Regions from separate parts of the Homo sapiens genome. Here all the other regions are linked to region 3. The links are contacts of gene promoters, found by promoter capture Hi-C in blood cells and fetal thymus (Javierre and others, 2016). All regions are on one chromosome and are shown on one strand. The core of a region is centred on a gene start or on the middle of the fragment in contact, and the rest is flanking DNA. Distances in the headings are between cores, read along the strand shown. Region 1 has its middle 64 kb from the start of C1orf220. Region 2 overlaps LOC105371632 (a long non-coding RNA gene). Region 3 holds the start of ANGPTL1 (angiopoietin like 1). Region 4 has its middle 9.7 kb from the start of C1orf220.

Region 1 (3,230 bases), core at 684-3,183, 260 kb after region 3:
CTCCCCCACACTACGATACTGTGAGGATTAGAGGAAGTAACACAGGCAAAGTGCTTTTTTTTTTTTTTTTTTTTTTGAGACAGAGTCTTGATCTGTCACCCAGGCTGGAATGCAGTGGCATGATCTTTGCTCTCTATAGCCTCCGCCTCCTAGGTTCAAGCAATTCTCGCGCCTCAGCCTCCTGAGAAGCTGGGACTACAGGTGTCTGCCACCACACCCAGCTAATTTTTTGTATTTTTATAGAGATAGGATTTCACCATGTTGGCCAAGCTGGTCTCAGACTCCTGACCTCGGGTAATCTACCCATCTCGGCCTCCCAAGGTGCTGAGATTACAGGCTTGAACCACAGTGCCCGGCCGCAAAGTGCTTTTTGCATTGTTAAGTAGTAAGAAGTGACTCATTGCTTTAACTCAGACCCAAAGGGCCTCTCCCTGGGTCTCCTGACTCCCCCTTCTCCTTACTTGAGTGATTGAGGTCCTCTGAGAGGAACCCCCTCTTGAGCAGTGAAGACCAGACTTTTATTCTGTCACTTAAAGACTCTCACAGTCTGAACCAAACTTAGGCCCATCTGCTGATCCCGGTATCTTGCCACCATTTCAGTCCATTTCTTGTACTTTCACATAAAAGCCTAATTTTTAGGTATCTTGCTGATATTGCCATTTGCCCTTTATTTTCTCTTATGCCTGGCCCAGTGCCAACTTTCTTGTGAGGACTTCCCTGACATCGAAGACTACTATGGTTTACTCCTCTGGGCTCACACAGCACTTGGTCTCTATTGCTGACCTATACATGGTTATCACATAGTTCAAGAATTCCTTGACTCTTGGGGCATAGTTGTCACCTTTTAGGTAGTCTGCTAATCCTATGACTCCTCTCTATTTTTTCAAGACTTGCCTCTTACGCAGCAACCCTATTTGGCCACAGCTGATGGACAAGGGTGAACCCCTGGGCCAATAAGATTCTCTCTTCAGGGACTTTAGAATTGACAGCCAGGATGTTGGTCAGTATTGCTGGAAGTGAGAACACGGCCTTCAGGAGTTGACTCAGCCTTTGTGAAGTGCCCATTTTTGGCCCACCCAGGTACACAGAGGTAGAGAATGTTGTCTGCCAAGGAGATCCAAAAGCAATGAACAGACACCAGAAGCCACGTAACCCAGTGAGAGAAAATGACTGAAAGAAAGCACCTTGGTATCTGAAAGCTTTCTAATTCAGGGTTCCAGTGCTTGAGAGGCCCAGCTATAGTTTCAGCAGCTTTGGGCTCTGTGAACTATCCCTGTATAAATAAATGTCTCCCTTGTGTTTAAGAAAGATGGGTATCATAAAATCATGTGAATGTTCGGTAATAGAGACACATCCAAAGTTTCACGGGGCACCTGGAGGTGAGGGAAAGTAGTCAGGAATGGCTTTCTGTAGAAGGTGATGTTGGTTGGACCAGTAGGGAGGGCACTTCAGACAGCGAGAACAGCATAAGCAATGCTGGGAGCTGCAAGCAGTTCAGTGTTGCTGGCACATAAAGGCATGGACTGGCCAGGAGTGAGGCTGGCCGGAGAGGGTGGCCAGGGGCCCAGTCAGGAGCATCTTGGGTGCCATGGGAAGGAGCCTGGACTTTATCCTGCAGGTCAGGGGTTCTCAACCATGTTTGCACATTAGGATTTCCTGGGAAATTTTAAAAAGAAATATGGTTTCTTTCTCCCATCCAGTCCACTTAAATCAGAATCTCTGGGAATGGAAGCAGGAACTGATTTTTTTTTTTTTTAAGGGCCCAGGTGATTCTAATGAGCAGATAGGCTGGAGAACCTGACAGGATGCCTTGAAGGGGTTTAAGTGAGATATAGACATGGTTTTAGAAAGATCACCATAGATGCTAGACTTTGAGGATGAGACAGAAGGCGGGGTGACTGTGGGCAAACTGCTGCAGTGTGCAGGGAGACGCTGAAGAGAACCTGAAATGGGATGAGGGTGCCAGAATAGAGGGGAAGTTTGCAAACATTATTTAGGAGACAAAATAGTTTTCAGTTTAAGATTTAGTGACTGGAGAGAGATGGAAGGTAGTCAGGGTTGTCCTGAGGGTCCTAGCTTGGGTGACTAAAATTGCCCCAGGCGGCACTCACCAGGGTTAAGCTGTGGATGTGTGGAATATGAGGTGGTGCCTGGTAAAGATCAGGCAGCTGAATAAGGCACCTAAGGCTTCAGGGCTAGACCAGGTGGAAACAAATTTCAGTTTCACAGCTCATTTTGAGTGTTGTCATTTATTTTTTATCATTTATTGAGGAGAACCTCCAAAAAAAAGTCACTTTTGTAGGTTACAAGGTGTTATGGGTGTTGAAAGCAGAGTGAGCCCCACCCCAGACCACCTCCTGAGACAGGGTGTGATGTGTGTCTCCAAGTGCCTTGAAGTCAAGTGACTTCTCAGAGAGGTCTAAAATTAGCAGAGCAGCTGTGCCTAGTGGGTGGCAACACCTCAGCTCACTAGGCCGAGAATGGGGCCTTCCTGCTGTGGGCTCTGTTGTGTGAGTAGGTCAGGAGTTAAAAGCAAGAATCTGTTTCTTTGGAGAATTTCCCCAGGAGCTGCATGTAGTCCCAGTGTGCTCAAAGAGAAGAGAAAATGTCTTCTGTTGCCAGGTGGAAGGGAAAGAACAGGGAGGGGTATGTTGGAAAGAAGCTTCATAGAAGGGCTGATTTTCAAGAACGTTCTCTATGGAAATGACGCCCTTAATGACAGGTGAGGAGTGGAGGAGCTCACACTGGGGAGTCAGTTCTGACAACTGGAAACCTGCTGTGGGCTGTGTTTTGCACAGAATAATGCTGTGTAGATGCTTTTTTTTTTTTTTTTTTTTTTTTTTGAGACAGAGTCTTGCTCTGTCGCCAGGCTGGAGTACAATGGCGCGATCTCGACTCACTGCAAGCTCCGCTCCCGGGTTCACACCATTCTCCTGCCTCAGCCTCCCGAGTAGCTGGGACTACAGGTGCCCACCACACCCAGCTAATTTTTTTTTTTTTTTTTTGTATTTTTAGTAGAGATAGGGTTTCACCGTGTTAGCCAGGATGGTCTCAATCTCCTGACCTCATGATCTGCCCGCCTCAGCCTCCCAAAGTGCTGGGATTACAGGCGTGAGCCACTGCGCCCGGCCTGTAGATGCTTTCTTGTTGTGGGTTTTCACTCTCGGGGGTGGTTCAACCTGGCCTCCAGATCAGGCCTCTGCTGCCAACCCTGCCAACCCAAGGGATTT
Region 2 (3,545 bases), core at 1,008-3,507, 290 kb after region 3:
TTTTGCTTTTGTCTGATTCTGCTGTGTTAAAGGAAACAAGTGTTGAGAAAGGTAAGTTGTAAAAGAAAACTGCTGCCTTTCCCTGATTAACTGGGAACTGACATAGAGGAGATTTTCTTCTTAGGGAAGTCGAAGTGGGAGAACAGAATCGGGGGTTCTGTTCCCTGGTTAGCTCTTTGTTCTGGGGGGCTGTCCTATGCATTGCAGGATGTTTAGCAGCACCCTGGCCTCTGTGACTATGCACTTCCTCTGCTTGTGACCATTGACAGTGTCTCCTGATGCTGCCCAAAATCTCCCTGTGGGCAGTATCACCTGTAGCTGAGAGTCACTGCCACAGATTAAAGAGGATGGAGTCCCAGGCAGCACCAGGGATGCCCCCGGCCGCCTGCTTTGGAAAGGGCTCAACTCCCTAAAATAGAAACAAACCCCAGAAGTGTCTGTAGGTCACAGAATTCAGCATGGCTGAAATTTGAGTGATGTGCACTGCTTTCTCAAGAAAAAAAAAAAAAAGGATGATTTCCAGTGTTAACATAAACCACTTTTATAAAGATTGTTAGTTGGATGTACACAAACATAAAATTGGGTATACAACCCTTGTAAGTTTTCTACAACTATAAAATCAAAATAAGTTCATGATTTGACAAATCAAATATAAAACCAATAAAACTCAAGGTAACATTAATTGAATGAGACAGATAGTGTGATTTTGTGGAGTCAAATTGCCCCTTGCTTGGTAACTCAAGCACCGAGTCGGTTCTCTGAGCTGGGCACGCCTTACACCTGCATTGTCTCATGACTTAAATCTCACGTGGCATCGTCTCTTCAAACTCCTATGGAAACACTGGTTGTGGGCCTTCTGTGAGCTCACTTGGCAAGTACATACTCTACTAAGGCCACTTGCGTTTTCTTCTGATTGGCAATTAACAGTTGACAACTGGCAATTAAAATAGCGCATCTAGGTTGCATTGTGATTGTGAACACTGAGCAAGGCTGGCACTGTACACTCAAACGTGGACATAGGGAGGACCCCAAATATGCTTATATTCTTTAGATTCTTGTCCAAATGAAAAGAATTTTATATTTTAAAAATGACAAACTTCCAACAGATGACTCTTAGTAATATATTAGGAGACTCTCAGAGGAGCAGATCCAGTCTGGGCCTCTACAGATGAGAAACCAAGCCTAGAGAATTGCCTGGGGAAAGAGATGTGGAGGAGCAGAGCTGGCTGGGAAGCAGCCCTTGCCTGGGAGCTGATGCTCCTTCCTTTCCTCTGGCTGTCCTTCCAGCACAACACTGTAGAATTCTGAGGCACAATGGTGCATAGATTCGGCTTGTTGTTTTGAATGTTCATTCAACTGAACTGAATACTTAAAGTTCATTTTTTAAAGGTACTAAATTGAACTAGGGAGTTTCTTTTTCTAGATTTTGATCTTTCAGTATTTAGTAGTATGACTAGAAAGCATCATGTGTGTGTATGTATGTGTGCGTGAAACATAACGTACATCCACAAACTATGGAAGTAAAGATCCAGTTCAGTGAATGATGATGAAGTAAAAACCCATGAAACCACAGCCAGGTCAAGAAATAGAACATTTCCAGAGTGCAGAAGTCTCAGAGTAAGCTCGGTCACAATTCTTTTTCTCCTCTAAAAGTAACCACCATCCTCACTTTTATTATAACAATTTCCTTGCTTTTCTTTAGAGTTTTACTATCTCTATATGCATCCCTAAACAATGTAGTTTAGCTTTGCCCGTTTATAAGCTTTATATCAATGGACCCTGACTCTGAGTATTTGTGTCTTGCTTCTTTTCTTCAACATTATATTTATTAACTCCAACCATGCTGTTGTTAAGTGGCTCTAATTCTTATGCTTTCTATGACAGGCCAGCATTTGGTTTGGTTCCAGCTTGGGGCTATTACAAACACTGCTTCTCTACACATTCTTGTATACATCCTGGTCCACAGCATATGCATGTACACCTGCCTTGATGGCATTTTCCCACATCAGAATTTCTCCACTTGTGAATAGGGTGTGTGAATCTTTAACCTTAGTAGAGAATGGCAACTATTTGCCAAAACTTTGCTTCAATTTAAACTCCCAAAAGCAGACTGGGTGCGGTGATCACACCTGTAATCTCAGCACTTTGGGAGGCTGAGGTGGGAGGATCGCTTGAGCCCAGGAATTCAAGGCCAGCTTGAACAATACAGTGGGACCCCATGTCTACAAAAAAAAGAAAAAAAAATAGCTGGGTATGGTGGTCCACTCCTGTAGTCCCAGCTACTTGGAAGGTGGAGGCTGCAGTGAGCCATGATCGCGCCACCGCACTCCAGCGTGGGTGACAGAGCAAGACCCTGACTCAAAAAATAAATAAAAACAAACTTCCAACAGCAGCGGTTCTCACTATATTCCATCCTCAACAGCACTTGTTATTGTCAAACTTTAAAACTTCAACTGATCAGGTGGCTGTGTAGTGAGTAACATTTCACTGTGAGTTTAATTTGCATTTCCCTGATTATTAAACAAAACCAAGAATCTTTTACTATGTTAATTGGCCACATGAATTTCCTGTTATGTGCCTGTTCAAATCTTTTGACATCTTGCTATTGCCAAATTTAAATTTCCTTTTTAAATAAATTTCATATTCATTAAAATTACATTTGACAGAAAAGTATGTCCGTCTTCCAGGGTACCTCTGCACACCTGAGAACTGTATATAGCTAAAGGTAAAATGTCTAAGATCTGTAAGCTTATAAGCAATTTTTTTTTACTATAAGTCATTGAAAAGATTATAACAATAGTTCACAGAAAAACATGGATTTAGATCATTTTTTCTTATCTCTATTTTCAAATCTAACATCCTTTTTTTGAATTTTGTCCCCTCATTTCCCTATACTTTCATAGAGAACAAACATACTCCTATATATCACAGTCCTTTGTTAAAATCAAGTGCAACCAAAGTTATTTATTATTCTATTCTGTATTTCTCATGCTGTGTGCGATATGAATTGTTAGAAGTTAGCTAAATGTCTGTAATAAAGTAGTGACACTATTGTATATATGACCTTTGCAGCTGAGATAATATTAAGTAAAATATAAATGGCTACAATAGTTATACATATCTAATAAAAATAAATAAACAGCTCACCCAAGCCTGACATCTAGCTTTTGCTCACCTTATCTCCTTTAGACATTTGGGTATGAGCTCACTGGCAAAGAGTGAAGCCCATATAATCTACCATTAAATAAATTATTCAGTAATCTGTGATGTCCTTGTAACATGAGAATCCCCTATTTAAAAAAAAATAGCTGCACTGCTTACAGAGGCACATGCCTGCTATTTATAGTCTTTATGGAAGTTGCTTTGCTAGCAAATCCAACTAGAACTCCCCGGGAATCTACAAGGATTGATGTTTACTGCAGGGTTTTTACACTGAGCTATTTTGCATATGTGTGGGTGTGTGATGCACACACAGAGGACTGACGGAGAAAGCCCAAGCAGGTATGAGGTATTTGTTAGCTCTGCTCCATTTTCCTCTTAACATT
Region 3 (3,074 bases), core at 488-2,987:
TAAATACCTGTCATTCCAATTTCCTACCCTGGCTAGTGATATTACTAAGTGCTCAAGTTAGAAAGCTCCAAACTGCTGAAAGTTTAAAAGCTCAGAAAGAATTTATTATCTCTTATTTTTCCCAGATTTAAGCCATTAGTGACTACAACATAATTACTGAATGCTCAAGAAACGATACATAATACAAATCAGAGGCCAGAAGCTGGCAGCACATCTGTCCCAATGTTTTTTAAAATCAGGAAGTATTACAGGAAAAATCTAAATGGCTCTTTTTTCCTGAATAATGGGAAGATCTGGCAACACTGTCTCATAATCCTTCATGGCCACAAGCACAGCTGAGAAGGTGCAGGCAGATCCCTTTAAATTAACCAAAAGGATGCCAACTTGCCATAAACTTCATTTCCCTCCAGTATCTTACTACTGATTTACTTCACTGATTTATATTACCTGCTCCATTCTTCTTGTGAGCATTTGCCTTTCTAGGCCCTTGTGTTTGCAACCTCTGGTATACCTATATATGGCATAGGAATTCAAATAAATGATTCTGTGAAAGAGGTAGAAAATAAGCTCAGACTTTAAATAAAGGATGTGGATCAACAGTGTGGCCTAACAGAAAGAGAAACACAGCACAAGCTACAGCAATAAGGAAGGGAAAGCACAGGTATGTAGAGAAAGCCCAAAAGTTTTATCTAGAAGCAGCTTACAGCAACTAGGTAATCAATGACAGAGAGTGTGGCATAATGCTTTGGCATTAGATTCAAATCCCAGTTCCACTACTTAGTACTTAAGTGCTAAGCTAAGTTACTTAAGCCTAAGTTTGTGTTTCTTCAGCTACTGAGTTATTTAACATTTCTTCAATTAATGAAATACAATAGTATAGTTGTACTCAACACTTATTCATTTCTTCCACCACCTTATTTCATAGCAGAAGAACCTTGCCAGAGGCAGGTAAAGTGATTTGTCTAAGTTCACATAGCTGGCATAGAGTCAGAGCTTCCTTGTTTTTTACTCAGTTCAGGGTTATGTTTGTTTTTAAACCACACCACATCAATTAATAACAAGAATGACCTTTTACAGAGAGGAGAGGTCATTTTGTAGAATAGGAGGATATGACATTATGTAACACCAGAATGTAATATTTAAAAGTCTTAAGCATCTGAAAGAATTTCACTTATGTTTGGTAATTATATATAAAGGCTGTTTTATCTTAAGACACATTACACAGTAAGACATAACATACTACAACAACATCAAGTTTCTTGTAAGTTTAAAACCTTCATTAGCAACTTAGTAAAATGTTTACAAATTCTTCTAGGCTATAAAGAGTATTTATTACATTATTTAGGTGGCTGCCTCCTGACAAAGTCTAGCTCTTGTTCTTTGTTAACAAAAACCAAACTCATCAGCCTGCAACTACTTCTAAGTGAAGTGGAGCACTATTTTTTTTTTCGGTATTCAACTTAAAAGATCTCTGGCCAGCAGACTAAAATGTTTGTTTTATAATTGCCCGCTGAACTATGATAGTTTGTTTCCAGATGGTGCCCTTCCTTCAACCTGCACACAATCTCTCCTTGTTCAAAACTATTCAACCTCCTGCTGATCCCACCCCCCTATTTAAGGCTACAAAGAGGAAATCCTAAGGAGATTCCCGCCCCCAGTCTCCAGCAATTTTTGGTGATGTAATATGTGGGCTGAACTTGAGTCTACTGAGAAAGAGGGAATCACTATTCAGGGGTACTGTATATACAATCTGGGTCAGCTGCAGCTGGTTACTGCATTTCTCCATGTGGCAGACAGAGCAAAGCCACAACGCTTTCTCTGCTGGATTAAAGACGGCCCACAGACCAGAACTTCCACTATACTACTTAAAATTACATAGGTGGCTTGTCAAATTCAATTGATTAGTATTGTAAAAGGAAAAAGAAGTTCCTTCTTACAGCTTGGATTCAACGGTCCAAAACAAAAATGCAGCTGCCATTAAAGTCACAGATGAACAAACTTCTACACTGATTTTTAAAATCAAGAATAAGGGCAGCAAGTTTCTGGATTCACTGAATCAACAGACACAAAAAGGTATTTAATATTTCTTTTATTTAAAAATATTATGTATAGCAAATGCATAACTATTTTATATTTGTAGTAGAAATTTCAGAATCTTTTACTAAACAAAGACCTTTGGAATATACTACAGTTTATCTCATCTGAAAAAGGTTTTATCTTGCAACTTGACATAAAAACATTAAGTACTGTGCAATGGTTAATGCATTATTTGAGGTTCAATTTAATGATGTTTAGTGTATATGATTACAGACTGATACATGCATGCCATGCTGGGTTTCTGAAAACAAGTGCTTTAGTGACAGTAGAAAGAAATTTTAACAAGTAACAGATTAAATGTATAAGGCTTACAGCACAATGATTAAAAACAAAGGAATACAAACTAAATAGTCGTGAACACAATTAGTTTCTCTTCCTGCAGCCACAGTGTGTGTGCTGAAGATATACATAAACTGTTGGATTTCTCAGTGTAGTCATAAAACAAAGCTAAGATACAAAAATAGTTGAAAGTCTTTGCAACAAAATCTCAATTACAGTATAACCAAATATTAAGCAGAAATTCTTGTACAGATTTAAGATTAATCTATGGCATTTCTTGTTCCAACTCAAAATTTTAAATAGCTTTCCAGGCTTACATGTAATAGTAATTTAATTTGGATGACAGAAATTAAACTTGCTACAAATGGAATCACTTGGAAAAGCTAAGTTATTGATATACACACAAAAGCATTATGTAAGTGGTATTAACAATAGAAAATAAGAACCCAGAAGATGTAATTAAATTCATGACTAAAAGGCCAAAAATATGTAATATTTTAGGTAGAAATAATTTTGTTAAGCACACATAAGAGGTTTCCTTCAATATTCTATCTGGGAGCTTTTTTTACATGCATTATAAAAACTATTAAAGATAAAATTACTCGTTACCAATAGTATGCCTTAAACCAAAGACACTTAAGTTTGTTAGATTTGGGGCTCCTTTAGCCTTGTAAAAATTAAAGATATTAATGGTTAAG
Region 4 (3,139 bases), core at 145-2,644, 320 kb after region 3:
ACTTCTTTAATACAAAAGGGACAACTTTGTAAGATAATAGCAATTTCAAATCAAAATCTCTAAAAGTAGGGAGCCATTTATATCCAGAAATTATTCACATCTATAAAAAGATTAATGCTACCCCTACTTAATAACAAATAGATAAAAAAGAAAAATAACTTCTACATGGTACATGACAGTCCATTGTGTAAATCATTTTAAAAGAAGAAGAGGCCAGGTGCCTCTCTTCCACCCACCACACCTCAGAGCAGGAGAGGAAGGAAAAGGAATTTGTCTGCTGGCTCTTTGCTGTCTCCTGGGCAAAGTCTCCTAGCACTCCCAAAGTGCTAAGATTACAGGTGTGAGCATCGCTTGAGCCCAGGAGTTCAAGAACAGCCAGGACAACATGGTGAAACCCCATCTCCACAAAAAATACAAAAATTAGCCAGGAGTGGTGGTGTGTGCCTGTAGTCCTAGCTACTCGGGAAGACCTCCACTTGAGCCTGGAAGGTTGAGGCTGCAGTGATCCGTGATCACACCACTGCACTCCAGCCTGGGTGACGGAGTGACAGTGAGATTCTGTATCCAAAAACAAAACAAAACAAAACAAAACAAAACAAAACAAACAAACAAAAAACCCGCAAGAAGAAGAAGAAAAATGTCCATGTGGAGTCCAGGCATTTTTAAATTCCCTAAATGGGAGGGCTCTGGAAATGTCAGGTGTAGTTACCACTAAATGGGTTTGGGGTTTAAAAGGCAACCCTTTGGGATCAGCCATCATTTCCACTCTCTGTCCTCCTCCAGGAAAATCTGTCACACCTGACATTTGGTAACTTTATCAGCTGGGGCCATGGACAGGCTGTGTTTGGGACTAGGGTGCATCTATAACCTGAGCATTCCCAGGGAGTGGCCCTGGCTTGTCCCCAGGCTGAGAGCTGCTATCAGGTGAGCAGGGCCAGCTGGTGCCAGCAGGAGGAGAGGGAGCCCAGGACCTCTCCCCTACATGTGTGAAGAGCTGCAGATCCCGTGGATGCCAGCTCCCAGAAAAGCAGGTGCTGGTCAGGAGGCCGCCCTGGCGGCAGCCTCTTCCCTGCCCTCCTCCTTTTCTCCCCACCCAGCCAGGGCCCATCCTTGCTCCCTGTTCTCTCCCTGGAATCCAGTTTCTCTTCCTCTCTATGGTGGTGCCTGCTTCAGTCAGGCCTTTGCCAACTCTCACCCACAATCCAAGCTCCATACTGATCTGGCCACCAGCTTAGCTTTTCTCTAGTCCAGTGTTTGATAAGGTCTGCCAACTGTCAGAATCATGAGGTGAGGGGGCAAGTACACATGCTTAAAATGCAAATTCTCAGGCCCTGCCCTGGCCTAGTGAATGAGAATTTCCAGGTAGGGCACAGCAACCTTTACCTCCAACCAGCTGTCTAGGAGATTCTGCTGCAGGCTAATCATTCTCTCCTTGGCTGCCATCTAATTTTATGTAAACACAGATTGGCTCATATCACCCCCTTGCTTTAGGTAGCTGGGGTGGGGATGGGAGGGGTTCGTGTGTCTAGATGTGCCAGACGAACTGGTGGGATTGAGCCACCCAAAGTCTCTTTACTGAGAGCCGGAGATGCTGCCTGACCTGAGAAAGAACTTGTCTTAAGAGACAGGGCGGGCTGGACCTCATGAGGAGGATCAGCCCCAGGAAAGGCCAGTGCTTGGCATTAACTTGGCCCTTGGTTAATAGAGCCAAACAGATACCTGGCCCTAATTTACTATGCCTAAGGACAGAGGGAGTTGTAAGTAAAATCTGGATGTACGATTGCACTAAACATTGCTTAATGCACTCACGCACACCCATGCACTCACATGCAGCAGCACTTTTTAGAGGCCCCTGTAGGAGAGCATTTCTCCCACTTCCACACAGGGTGACTCTGGCCCCCTGAGGACTCTGTGTGTTGGGATGTCTGGCTGGAGAAGGTGAAGACCAGTGCAAAAGGGCAGCAATGCCTGCCAAGGGACACCAGGACCTCACCACTTTAAAATGAAGGCTTTCTCCCCTCCATAGTTAACCCCTACCTGTCGTTTTAGATTCATCAACCCCCTCCCCAAGCAGGCACCCTGATTTCCAGTCATTCCAACCCAAACAATTCCCCTCTGTCCCCTGCACGGGATTAGGCTGCAAACTTCAGTGGCAGGACAATTCGTGGTTGAGGAACTTAAACCCTTATGGGGAAAAACAGACAGTTGGGAGTTGAGACAACAGAGAAGCTAGAAAAACTTCTGTAAATACTCATATAACCAGGACACCACATAGAATACACCACAGAATAAAGACAACGTTTGTGATATTTGCTCATCTTTATTAATTTCCATTAGAATTTGTAGACAATGGAATCTTCCTTCCCTGTATTTTAAAGGAAATGCTTGTCAATGGATTTTGCTTTGCCCCCTATATTATAAACATGAGGGTACTGTCCTTGATTTTTTTAAACTCAGAATGGTTAGCTGTTGTCCTGTTCACAGGCCCCACAGCTGCAATGTCGCCTGGGGAAATGGTAACTTGGATGTTTGCACAGAAAACATGGAGTTGTCCTTTTGCCAGAGGCACAGAGTCCTTACTGCTTCTGATCTTTGGGCCAAAGCTGGCACCATCTCTGCTTCCCCCCTCTCTGATCCCACCACAGTTAGTTCCAAGGCCAGGGTCAGCTCCCTGTAACTTCCACAGAAGCATCTTACGGACAAGACTTCAGCCTGTACTCATCTCTGTGGAAGGAGGCGGATGCCACGACTGGCCACTCTTTTCACTCACCTTATTATCATCTTCCTATAATCTGGTCCCCACAGAGTAGTCACAGTAATAATTGGAAAGTATAAATCAGTCTTATCATGTCCCTACTTAAGATCTTCCAATGACTTCCCATTCTCCTTGGAAGAGAATCCAAGCATTTGGCCATGCCTAAAAGGCCCACATGGCCTGACCTCTGTGACTTCTTCATCTTCCTCTCCCACTTTTCTTCCTCTTCTCCAGCTCAGCGATACTGGCACCCTCTTGCTCCTCATCCAGCACATCAGGGTCCTTCCTGCCCCAGGGCCTTTGTACTTGCTCCGTCTGGAGTGTCCTACCCCCGCCCCCGGTGCTTCCCATCGCTGGCTCCTTCGCTGCTCAGATGTCCTGACC

The links. The method cuts DNA at HindIII sites, captures the fragments that hold promoters and counts their contacts. A CHiCAGO score of 5 or more calls a contact.
Region 1: a contact is called between a fragment that was not itself captured here and the fragment with the promoter of ANGPTL1 in region 3, in 2 of 17 cell types (total B cells and naive B cells). The highest score is 6.3, in total B cells.
Region 2: a fragment that was not itself captured here is called in contact with the fragment with the promoter of ANGPTL1 in region 3 in 2 of 17 cell types (total B cells and naive B cells); the score reaches 9.1 in total B cells.
Region 4: a contact is called between a fragment that was not itself captured here and the fragment with the promoter of ANGPTL1 in region 3, in 1 of 17 cell types (naive B cells). The highest score is 8.3, in naive B cells.

The regions. Positions count from the first base shown.
Region 1 is chr1:178,605,379-178,608,608 of GRCh38, reverse strand. No RefSeq gene overlaps it. Among named protein-coding and RNA genes, the nearest start is that of C1orf220, 64 kb to the right of the region's middle. RefSeq lists enhancers at 205-284, 2,389-2,528, 2,539-2,688. The HindIII fragment of the contact is 1,463 bases long and covers 1,202-2,664 here.
Region 2 is chr1:178,575,999-178,579,543 of GRCh38, reverse strand. It overlaps LOC105371632 (a long non-coding RNA gene), which reads left to right. Exons shown (of 4, transcript XR_922315.3): 1 at 1-3,545. Among named protein-coding and RNA genes, the nearest start is that of C1orf220, 35 kb to the right of the region's middle. The HindIII fragment of the contact is 986 bases long and covers 1,765-2,750 here.
Region 3 is chr1:178,869,740-178,872,813 of GRCh38, reverse strand. It overlaps ANGPTL1 (angiopoietin like 1), which reads left to right and starts at 1,737. Exons shown (of 6, transcript NM_004673.4): 1 at 1,737-2,073. All of the region lies in intron 8 of RALGPS2 (Ral GEF with PH domain and SH3 binding motif 2), which reads right to left. The HindIII fragment of the contact is 10,209 bases long and covers 1-3,074 here.
Region 4 is chr1:178,550,909-178,554,047 of GRCh38, reverse strand. No RefSeq gene overlaps it. Among named protein-coding and RNA genes, the nearest start is that of C1orf220, 9.7 kb to the right of the region's middle. The HindIII fragment of the contact is 8,210 bases long and covers 1-3,139 here.